2 separate regions of the Homo sapiens genome follow, and region 2 is linked to region 1. The links are contacts of gene promoters, found by promoter capture Hi-C in human tissues and cell types (Jung and others, 2019). All regions are on one chromosome and are shown on one strand. Each heading gives the region's core, a stretch centred on a gene start or on the middle of the fragment in contact. The rest is flanking DNA. Distances are from core to core; before and after follow the strand shown.

The links. Contacts are between HindIII fragments. The study calls those that stand out against the background at their distance.
Region 2: a contact is called between a fragment that was not itself captured here and the fragment with the promoter of PCSK2 in region 1, in 2 of the 25 tissues and cell types used here (aorta and spleen).

The regions. Positions count from the first base shown.
Region 1 is chr20:17,224,501-17,230,304 of GRCh38, reverse strand. PCSK2 (proprotein convertase subtilisin/kexin type 2) reads right to left here and starts at 3,265. Exons shown (of 12, transcript NM_002594.5): 1 at 2,823-3,265. The coding sequence starts at 2,999. The HindIII fragment of the contact is 16,215 bases long and covers 306-5,804 here.
Region 2 is chr20:17,283,697-17,289,500 of GRCh38, reverse strand. The region is part of intron 2 of PCSK2 (proprotein convertase subtilisin/kexin type 2); the gene reads right to left. The region is part of intron 2 of LOC105372546 (a long non-coding RNA gene); the gene reads left to right. Among named protein-coding and RNA genes, the nearest start is that of PCSK2, 60 kb to the right of the region's middle. The HindIII fragment of the contact is 5,054 bases long and covers 1-5,012 here.

The sequences.
Region 1 (5,804 bases), core at 2,016-4,515:
CCATTGCTGACCTTTCATATGGATGAATAAATAACCACTGAGAATCTTTTGTGTCTGACACTGAGCCTCGGAGCAGGGAGCAGTAGGGAGTTGGGAAGCATGCTAAGCATCAGAGCAAGGAAGGAGAAGGACATAAGGGCCTCTAAGATGCACAATAACAAATGTTGGCAAAAGTACAAAACAGTATGATGAAAGCAAGATAGGACGGTGTCTGGGAAACCTGGGATAATAAATACAGACAAGGAAGTTTCCTTCAAGGCTGGCAAAACAGTAATGTGCTGGTTACAGGGAGGAAATGAGAAATATAGGAGGTATCATCCCTGAATATTTACCTTTTAAGTAGAAATACAACAACTGAACCCATATTTACTTATATACCTGAAATAATGAGGAAAAGTGATGGCATTTATTAGCTTATGTAGTGCAGTGTTTGCCTATCAGTCGCATAAAAATTTGGAGGAGGGAAAGCTCACTGTGGTCTGTAGCATCAGGAAAGGTTTGAATTTAGGTCTTGAAGAATGGACAAGACATGGATCCAAAAGGAGGTTTATTCTAGGCAGATGTTGCACCAGGCAGTCCCTGTTACTTAAACGTGTAAAAGGGGAAAAAAAATCACTGGATTTGGTTGTGGGGTACTACCTGAGAGGTTATGGAGAAGTAAGGAGAGAGGTCTCTCAGATGGGAACTGCAGGTTTCAGGTTGTGATGCAAAATCAGTGTGCTCCTCTCCAAGAAAGAATGAAGGACAAAGAGGCCTAGTTATCTGATCTCTGATCCTAAGGGCACATTTTCAAAGGGGGCAGCAAAGAGAAGAGAAAACCACTGAGAACAATGGTTTTCAGAAACCTATGGCTCCCTCCCACTCCCCCGCACCCATGAAAAGGTGTGGGGGAGGGGGAGGGAGCCACAGGTTTCTGCAGCAAGATCACACTCAAGAATTAAAATCCCTTTTCAACTTATCTCAATGCCCCACATCCCCTGAAAGCACCTAGCTTGCTTGGGTGGGTACTAAGGAGTAAAGAGCATGGGTTCACTTCTGAAAGATCTGGATTGAAGCCCTTGCCTGTTTTTATCTCGCACCCTTTTCTGAACCAATTTCCTCAACGGGGCCATAGGCTCAATAATGATAGTAGCCTCCTCAGAGATGTTGAGAAGATTAAGTAAAAATCTATGTAAGGACTCCAGCACGTAAGCTTCCGTATAACTAATAATAATCACTATTATATTTTATAATGGCGTTTGGGTCCTGGGTCTTGCCAAGTTTGGGGTGGGGGGGAGTGAAGAAGGAAGGTCGGCTTCTTTATTGTGTTGGTGTCTCTCAAAACAGCCGGCAGGCCACGGGCCAAAACCACAGCGGGGTGCTCCCTCCGCCGGCGCCTTCTTTCCCCTGCTCCACCCACGCTTTCCAGAGCAACAAGTTCCTTTCCGCAAGACCCGCCCGCGCGCCACCGGCGGACCCAGAGCCTCTTCCCAGACCTCTGTCAAACTCGTCGCCAGACCCTTCTGGGGTCGAAATTCCGGTACTGCCTACGCCCTTAGGAGGAGGGAGAGGCCCCCACACCTGGAGGAGCCCTGGCGGTGGCTGGGAGAGAGGCGGGAGGCTTGGGAAGTCAGGACAGAAGAGACTAATAAGAGCTTCGGTCTGCGCGGCCCTTCAAGGCAAAACCAATAACCAAAAGCACCCACCGCTCATCTCACTCCTCTCTCTTCCTGGGATCAGGAGCGAGATGGAGCCTAAAATCTCAGGGACCTCCACCCAGCCCTCTGGTAGCCACATCTCTGTCCTTTGGGTTCCCCTCGCCCCACCTTCTCTCTGCACCCACACTCCACCCCAGCCTGCGCCAGGTCCCCTAAGGACACTGGAGAACCCTGATACATCTTTTGCAGGAGAGACACGCAGGTCAGCCACAGCCCCCACCCAGCGCCCTTCTCTCTGTCCTCCCAGGATGAGTACCCTGGAGTCTCCAAAGGAGATCCAAGGTGTCCAAAGCTGGGAGGCTCACCTATCTGCTCAAACTGTCGAACTCTGGCAACTTCTTGGAATGGGGATCCCCACGCTCTAGTGGGAAAGCCAGGCTGGCCGCCCACGCATCAGGAGAGGACACCTCGACTTCTCCGTAGGGAATCCCCCTCAAAATCCACCTCTCCAGCTCCTGTAGCCGGGAGTTGAGAACTAGGGAGCCAACCAGAAGTGCGCTCCAGGGGTGGGCGGTCGTGGGCGGGGGTGAGGGCGCAGAAGTTCCGCCCCGATTTTAGAGACCAGTTTCTTTCCAAATCTAGAGTCAGGAAGCCGTTGTTCCCGGAGAGGAGCAGGGACCGAAGTCCCTGGGAGGGAAGTCCTCCCGGCGCGGGGTGGGAGAAACACCGAGGTGAATTGCAGTGTCCAAACGTCCAGCCTCGTCTGTAGGAAACTATTCTTTCTCCGGGGGATGGGGGTGGGGGAGACTTCCCTGGCCAAGTAGCCAACGCCAGGCTTAGCTGTTCAGGGCTTCATCCCTCCATCCCCAGGCAGCCTCGAGAACTTGGTACCTCGGACAGCATCCCCGGAGCATGGCATCCTGTGAAAGGTGTTATCCTATTTTCGCCATCAAGTCAAAGAGCAGTAAATTATTTTGATGACCTTACTAGTACAGATGAAGGACATTTTAATTACATAACCGGTGAAAGATCACCGGAGGCAATATCGTGTTAAAGAGCCCATGGCAGAATATCTGCATCGCATGAGAAAGAGAGAAAACTTGCAAATCTGCAATGAGATTGCGCAGGGCTGCCCCCCCGTCCCCCCGTTTTGAAACAACATGCGAAATGCATGGGAGAGCTTACCTTTCGGACTCCAAAGCCGTGTTCTGCTGCAACTTGGCGAGCTTTGTCCTCTCCCCCTTTATGCAACTCCACAAGAAAATGATTCGTGAAGACCGGTCGCTCAGCAGATGCAAAAACCATGACACAGAAGAGGAACCCGGCGGCCGCCTTCCACTGGGAGACACAACCACCCTTCATCCTTCTTTGGGAGTGAAAAGTGGTGCTAGGAGGCGCGCAGGCTGGCGGAGCAGGGGACTCGGAGGGAGGGTGCAAATAAAGAATTCTTATATATAGTTTTTAAAAAAATCTTTGTATAGAGAAAGAGACTGAACAGGGTCTTGGAAAGCAGCGAATCAGTGTGTGTTCTCCAGCATCTGGCTGGAGGGGAAGCCGTGCAGTCAGGCGGCCCGGCGCGCGGGCAGGGGTGCGAATGTGGGGAGCTGTGTGTACCGGAGAGAAAGAGCGAGTGTAGGTCTGTGCTTGATGCTAAATCTGCATTTTCAGCTCCTCCTCAGCTCCAATTCCCTAGGGGCTGGGGGAGAGCACCAGCTCGGGTGACGTGAGTCCGCCAGCGGCCAATGAGGGCGGGGGAAGCGGCGGGCCCCGCCCTGGGCCGCCCCGGGCCCGCCCCCGCCCACCCCCGGCCCGGCCCGGCCCGGCCGCCTCCGCCTTCTGGGGGCGCAGCGCAGCGCAGCGCAGCGCAGCGAGCCCGCGCCCCCGCCCCTTTCAGCACCGGAGAGCTCCCCCATCTCAGCCTGGCCCGCCGCGCGCCCAGGAAAATCCCCCCAGCTGTAATCAGGCCAGCGGCGGCGGAGTGATGTCATTGTTTGTGGGAATCTGTAGGCTCTGGGAAGGGAATTACGGTGTGTGCCGCTCTCAGAGGCCCCGAGGGGAGCAGGGGCGCCGGCCTCTGTGCCTCTTCCTGCTTGTTTCCCGCTGCAAAAACACCTCTCTCTCTCTCTCTCTCTCTTTCTCTCTCTCTCAAACACACACACACACACCCAAGGCATACTTGCCTCCCCTTATCCGAATAACAAAGCAAATATTAACCCTCCTCCCACCACTTTGGGCAAATCCCCGGGGAGGTTTGCTCTCCTTGGCACCAGGAGGGTTGGGGAAAGCACCTTCTAGGGGTGATCCATGGGGGGCGAGAGTGCAAGGACGAGCCCTTGTTTTTTGTAGGCTCCAGGCAGGTCCGGAGCGAAGCGGCTGGGAAGCCCAGCAGGAGACCCGGCTCGCCCCACCCGCGATGGTGACTGGAGGAGGCTCCTCTAGGAGTCCTGGCTGCACCTCCAAGATCTGCCTTCAGGAGAGACGCGGCCGGGGTGGACACGGCGGGAGGTGCATTCTCAGACCTGGGGACGTTCCACTGCACAAGGACAGCGAGGGTGCTAGTTGGGGAACGCATAGCCACCGATCCCAGGCGCCGGGCCAAGTCGCCCGCTGAACGTCTTCTACTGGAGGCGAATTCGGGCGCAGCGACGGGGGGCAGGGGCAACTAAGTTATCCGGTTAAGAAACGTGCACTCGCACTGGACTCTGCTAACTGCTGACGACGGACTCCGCTTCTTGCCTGAGAGGGAGGAAGCACGAACGTTCTGTATGTAACGAAATGAGGACGACTGTTTCAAAGCTACTCAAATATTGTTGTGTTAAAGAGTATTTACACTGATCTCATTGTATCATTTAGCTTCAAAGCTCAAAATTCTGCTTTACTTAGATAAGAGGTAAGAGATCTTTTCTTAGGGGCTTAAGTGCATGCAATTCAGAGAGAGAGGAAGAGACTATTTATACCATCGACACGTTACACACACATTCTCATGTATACACATATTCCTCTCTTTTTATTTTAGCTTGAAGTCCAAATCTACACAAGTCAGAACCTATGCAAGAAAAGCACCATCGGTAGAAATGAATACACTTTGAATGCCATGGACCACCCTGTCTTCAGAGCATGTCTGTTTGCTGACATAGTTGGCTCCCTCATAGCCCTTTAAAAAATTGTCACGTAAAAATGTGGGCGTTGCTGAAGGTTTTTATTAAAACATTAGAAGTCTATGTGACATTATTTATTATTGTTATTTGAATTCCTCTAAGAAAATTAAGCTATCTGTTAGGACTTAGGGCCATGGTGGAGGCAAGGTTTCTGGAAAAGTATTAACACGGTGAAAGTATTAATAAAGGGAAACAGATCAACTCTGGGCCCCTCAGCTCACTACTGCTCAGAGGCTCATTTCTGCCTTTGTTCCCCCTTTCTATTACTCTATTGTTTAACAGCTTACCCCCTCATAGTCCATCCGTTTGATTATAACACAAGGTTTTCATGTTTCACCGTGTTAGTCAGTATGGTCTCTATCTCCTGACCTTGTGATCCACCCGCCTTGGCCTCCCAAAGTGCTGGGATTACAGGCGTGAGCCACTGCGCCTGGCCACTTCATTTCTTAAATAGTTTCCAAATATGAAATGCTGGTAAATGTTGAATCTCATATAGCTACATTTTAAATAACTAAAACTGTGTAAAATTGGCCAGAAATGATATAAAACCTGAATGACTAATTAAAATAAGTCCTCTTTAGTGGTTTACATAAAATACAGCTCATCATAATATTGTCAGGACAGAATAGCAAATGGAAAGATAATTTTTTTGGTTATTCAAATACTAAATTTTCAATACACAACAATGTAGTAAGCAAGTGGAAGAGGAAATGTATTTATCCCTTGGATATCTATTGATACATTGTTATTTGAAATGCTAATACACACCCATGTGTGCACACAAATTGCTCTTTTAGACAACTATTTCTCAAACTCCTTTTTCCAATAACAATAGTCAAGGTGGACAGTAGAGAGAATGGCAGCAGCACATTTTGAGGATAGACCTAGAAGCCTGTTGCCAGGGACCCTATTGCAGGCTCTGCTAGTACTAGGTATGTATACCACTTGGCTGTGGGCCAACATATTGCACCTCTCAAAGTCTCTATCTTTCTATCTGTGAAAAGAGACT
Region 2 (5,804 bases), core at 1,236-3,735, 60 kb before region 1:
TTTTAGAATAGTTTTAGGTTTACAGCAAAAATGAGTGGAAAGTACAGAGGGTTCCCATATACCCCATCTCCACAGAACCTCTCCCATTATTGACATTCAGAACCACAGTGGCACAATTATTACAATCAGTGTTAGTTGTTAAACAAGGAGCTTCATAGTGACCCTCAAATATGCATATGTGACTTGCTGTGTTATTTTTTTTAATGCAAAACTAATTTGGCTTGTTTTAGGTACACAAATCTGACTTTGAAAAGGCCAATTCCAATTCTCATTTTGCTCTTCAACCTAGATATTGACTAATCTAACAAGGCTAAGTGATTGAGCAAAGTTTGAGAGGTAATATCACTGCATTGATTTATATCCAAAATGATAAGATATTTGATCACTTGCTTATTCAGCACCATCTGGGACCTTGCTGCTGTCCTTCGGTTGAGAGAAAGGAAATGCTTCTTTCTAGGCACAAGGTGGTTTCCAGTAACATCTGTCATCCTTATTTCCTTCTATAATCTATTAATAGTACTGCACAAGAACGCAGCTTTCCTTTGCGGATAGCCTTTTGGGATAGCTTCACGCAGTCTTTTGAAATTGCTAACTGCAAGTTGATTTAGATTGAAGCCAGTATATTTGTTCGCTAGGGCTGCTGTAACAAAGTACCATAGACTGGGGGGCTTAAACAACAGAAATTTATTTTCTCACGATTCTGGAGACTAGAAGTTCAAGATCAAGGTGTCATCTGGGTTGGTTTCTTCTCACACTGCTGTCTGTGGGTTGCAGATGGCCTTCCTCTCCTACGTCTTCTTGTGGTCTTTCTTCTGTGTGTCTGTGTCCAAATTTGCCCTTCTCATGGGTGTTTACCCATTATATTGGATTAAGACTCACCCTAGTGACTTCATTTGAGTTATCCTTTTAAAGGCCCAATCTCCAATTACAGTCTAATTCTGAGGTACTGGGGGTTAGGACTTCAACATATGAATCTGGGGGGAAACAATTCAGCCCAGAACATGAGCCGTGGCATTGCTGCAGCCATTAGTGGTGGAGCAGGTGAGTAGGGACTCACTGTCATTGACTTTCTCCAGCATCCAGAGCTGTCTTTGCACCCTTGGAATTGCACCTGCTCTGGTCTTGCTATTGCTGTCCATCGAAGCCACCCTCCTCTGTGACAGACCATGTTGCAGAATCCCTGGCCTCTCCCCTTCTTGAAATGCTGTCCTGGATTTCTGCTGGCTTTGGGAGCATCCTCATGTGCCCTAGGGTAGCAGACACCTGCTGAGGTAGAGGTTAGATGGAAGCTGCATGAAAGGACATGCTGAGTCATCCTCCATGAGAAGGGATCTCCTCAGAGCAGAGTTGTCCGTTCCTGGAAGGGCCTGGTGAAGGAGTCCAGCTTGATCAGGTGGATTTAGAATGGGAAGTGGGGAAGGGCATGTACAGCTGTGTGATCCAGCCTGCAGAGCCAGCCCTTGGGTGAGAGCTCATCACCTTGCATGAGGAAGACAGGGCGTTCTGGGACAGAAAGGAAAAACACCCCATCCCCAGATTCCCAGTCAGGCTGCTCTTTCAGGGTGAGCTGGGGGAGGGTACATCAAGGTCAGGTGTTAGGCAAGGGCAACGAGGCCACCAGAGTAAAGCTATCTGGAGCATGAAGGCAGGCAAGCCTTATGGCCAGGTATGACACAAAGCCCAGGGGCTTAGGAAGGCTCCCCAGGCCTCCCACTAGGGTGGCTTGGGGGAATACTGGCTGGCCAGGGTTATAATCTTAACCAAAGGAGTTGTAGGATTGGTGCTCTCCTGAGAAAGGACAGCGCCACCTGTGGTTGCTAATGGCACTGCTGACTCTGAAGCACCAGGGTTCTTGGAGAATTGAGGACCTTCTTCCATAAGATAAGTGGATGCTTAGCCACTAGTTATAAAATAAAATTGCATGACCCCACTTGCTCCTATGCTTGAGCAGACAAGAAAGAATCCACCCTCCCCTCCTTGACCTGTTTACTTCCTCAGCTTCATTTGTATCATTCTCTTATTTCCTCCCCATTTTAACACACACACACACACACACACACACACACACAGACACGCACATGCTGGTGCAAGATCCCTGAAATGCCTCCCGACCTCATGAATAAATATTTGCAAGTATTTTTCACGGTGCTTTCCTCTCCTTCACCCTTGTAGACTCCCCACTTTCTCTCAGTCCCCGCCAGTAGCCTTCGATGTCTATTGTGACTTTGTCTGTCTTGCCCACTGGATGTGTGGCTAATTTTATGTGTCAACTGGGCTAGGCCACGAGGCTCAGATGTTTGGTCAAACACTAGTTTAGATGTTGCTGTGAAGGTATTTTTTTTTTTTAGATGTGATTAACATTTAAGTGAGCAGAGCTGAGTAAAGCAGATTGCCCTCAAAATATGGGTGGGTCTTATCTTATGGTTTTAGGAGAAAAGACTATGGTCCGCTTAAGGAAGAGGGAATTCTGCCTCCAGACTGCCATGGACTCGAGCTGCAGCATAAATTCTTGTTGGCATTTCCAGCCTGCTGGCCTGCCCTGCAGATTTTGGACTTGCCAGCCTTCACAATTGCATAAGCCAATTCCTTAAAATAAATATCTCTCTTTACATATACAACCTGTATGTATACACCCTATTGCTTCTGTTTTTCTGGAGAACCCTGACTGATTCTGATACAGACTGTGAGCACAACCCCCTTCACTGGGATGGAGACCAGGGCAGAGGGTGCTGTGGAGGGAGGCATGAGCTGTTCTGCAATTCATGAGCAAAGCAGGTGGGCTTTTACAAACATTGCAAATTCTTACTGGATTCCTGACCAAACCAGGATTTATATATAAACGTCTACCAAAATATGGCAGAAAGGTAATATCCAAAGCATTGCTTTGCAAGAATTGCTACATTTTTCTTCCTCCAGGTACATCTTAGTAGATTGTACTTTGAAGATTAAGCTCCTGGAAAAGTATTTAGTGCCTTTCTTATAAAGCATCTGACACATTCTAGGTGTGAAAGAAAAGCTTAATTTCCTAAAAAAAACAAAAAAACGATCCTGTGCAGAGAGCTTGCTCTTCCAAGTCATACAGAGGCTGCACCTAATTTCTTCATTTATCTCTAACATTCTTCCTCCTGCCTTTGAAACTCTTTCGTTTAACATTAGCATTTGATTAACCTTTTATTCAAGAGACATCTGGGTTTTGTTATACACTATTATGTTGATTCTGGCTTGTTTTTATTTCAGATAATTTTCAAGTAGCCACATGTGTTAGGTAGTAAGGTCTTCCTTTATTGCTAGTTTTTGGCAATGGGGCTCCAGGAAGAGCTGTTACTTCATTATCCAAACCTTGTTCATGTGGAGAAAACAAGAACAATCCAGTAATGACAGCAAGATTTTGTTTTCCAGGCAGAGTTATTTGGAGGAATGTCCTGGCCATTTCTGCCTTACATTTATGCATTTTTTTGCAGGCTTTCAAAATTATATTTTGTGTCAATTAAAACTCACATAAAATACAATTTAACTGAAAAAAGCTAAAGGTAACTCTGTAGTTAGGGTTACATGGGATCATCTCAGCAGCTCTGGTGGGGTCTGGTAAGTAACAATTTTTCTTCAAATGTCCTTTGAGGCCACTAGTACTGCCATTAGTACTGACTCATAGGTGGGTCTGTGATGTGCTGGGGCCTGGATGAAGTTGAGTGTGTCCTTAAAATCTGGAGCAAGGAAAATTCCACTATTCCACTCCTAATTCCTTAACAGTAATGGTGGCTCATGATTGCCAAGGCCAGAACCCATCCAGGGTTTGTACATGTTTTGGCACTTCCTCTGAGCTTTGGTCTGAAGGCTACTGCTCTTATGTGGCCAATCTGTCTGCAGTTGCCTGCAGCAGGAGCTCAAAATACAGTCTACTGAAGAATTCAGGGCTAGTGAGAGATTTACAGTGTTAAAAATTATAGGAGGTTGTTGTTTTGGACTAAACTTTTGCACTAGACTTCAACAGACCAGACTAAAGATCAAAATAGAGTCACCCATGCTAAAGTTCTACATCACCAAACCTAAACTATGACATTATCCAGCCTTCTGAGAAATCGGGAGACAGAAATAACAGCCATTTTCCAAGCAGGTCAGTTTTAATTATCAATCGACATGGTAATAAAGTTCCTTCTGCTGTATTCCTTACACAAAATAAGTAGCCTGACATGACTTGATGTTAACTAATCAGTTATTTTTCTATTGTTCTATTTCCCTGTTCCCACCCGACAAGAAAAAGTAACTTTGAAAAATAATGAATACATCCTTTGTTCTTTGTTTCTGCTTTCTTCAACCCTTCTTGAAGCCATCCTCACAGGGTTAAGAAGAATTCTGGACAGAAATATAGTTATAAATAAGAGTAAATAATCAGCCTTCACTTTTACCCACTTCCTTGAACCTGATAGTCACAGAGCACTGATCCTGACCACTGGCATCCCCATTGTTCCTATAGATAAGATCTCTGACATTAAAATCACAAGACTTTTGTTTAAGAATTGCTTAAGGTGTTTTCCAGATCCTGAATTCCAGCAAAACAGTTGTTGCCAACCAGTTTGAAACCCCCCACAGAGTAATGAAATCAGAGTGAGAATATAGTTTCTTTATCTCCCTGTCCCATGACTTCACTCTGTACTCTTCACCCCGTCAACAATCTCCATGCTTCAGCCCACTCCATAACCCTTAAAAACTCTATCCCCAAACTCCTTGGGGAGACAGATTTGATTTTCCCTCCCTCTTCCTCATTTGGTGGCCCTATGGTTAAATCTCTTCTCTGTCACAATCCAGTGTCTTGGCATATTGATTTGCCATGCACATCGGGCAACAAACCTAGTACAATTACATTCTCTGTCTAGAAAGCCAACCTCTTCTGCTAGGCTCATTGGAACACTTATTCTATTTTATGGAATTAAGTGTTGACCAATTCTAAAATTGCTATAAAGCCCAGCGAGATCTTTAAACTAAATTTGTTGTAATTTGTCCTTTGACAATAGCTTGTGCATGTCTGCTCTCCCTCACAAGGAAACAACAGAGAAAATGGATCAGATAACTCCTGCAAAGTAGAGCCAGTGGTGATGGTGGATGGAGTGGACGAAAGCCATTGCCAATAGTGTGCTGTATGTCACAGTTAGCAAAGCATAAGGCACAGTTCCAGATTAGATGTGCCTTGTTAGTGATGGAGCAGTCAGAGTTCATGTATACGGGGCCAAGCCTGGTGCTGCTGAAGACCTGGATGTGACTGCTACTCTTTGACTGTTAGCTCCATAAACCTCCATCTCTCCATTTAGTGGGAACAATGTTCCCAAGTGAGAACAATGATACCTTTCTGGGCCATCTCACACAGTACTCAGAAGATGACAGAGCTTTGTTAACTCCCAAACCAGATGAGATGGCAATGGTGGGGGTGGAGTTGATATAACAATGCCCACAAAAGTCAGGGCTACATGGATTCCTGTGAACGATATAAATGTAAATGAAGAACATGGCTGGAGTCACACTCATTAGATATGGGAAATGTGGATTCTGGCCATGGCTCCTGCAATGACAAACTGTCATTTGGCAGGCTTGTTTTCCTTATTTGTACTCATAAAGAGAGGTTTGTGTAGAGGAGAAGTGGATAAGTAATTTCTACTCTAGCTGACGTGGGGCTGAGCAAACATGCTAGCTGGATTTAGGTAGGTAGGGTAAGCAACGTGAAGTGATGATACCTGAGATGGAATTGTCCCCTGCCTTTTTCTCTAGCATGACAAGTTGCCAGTGACTTAGTTCTTCGGTGCAGGAAACTG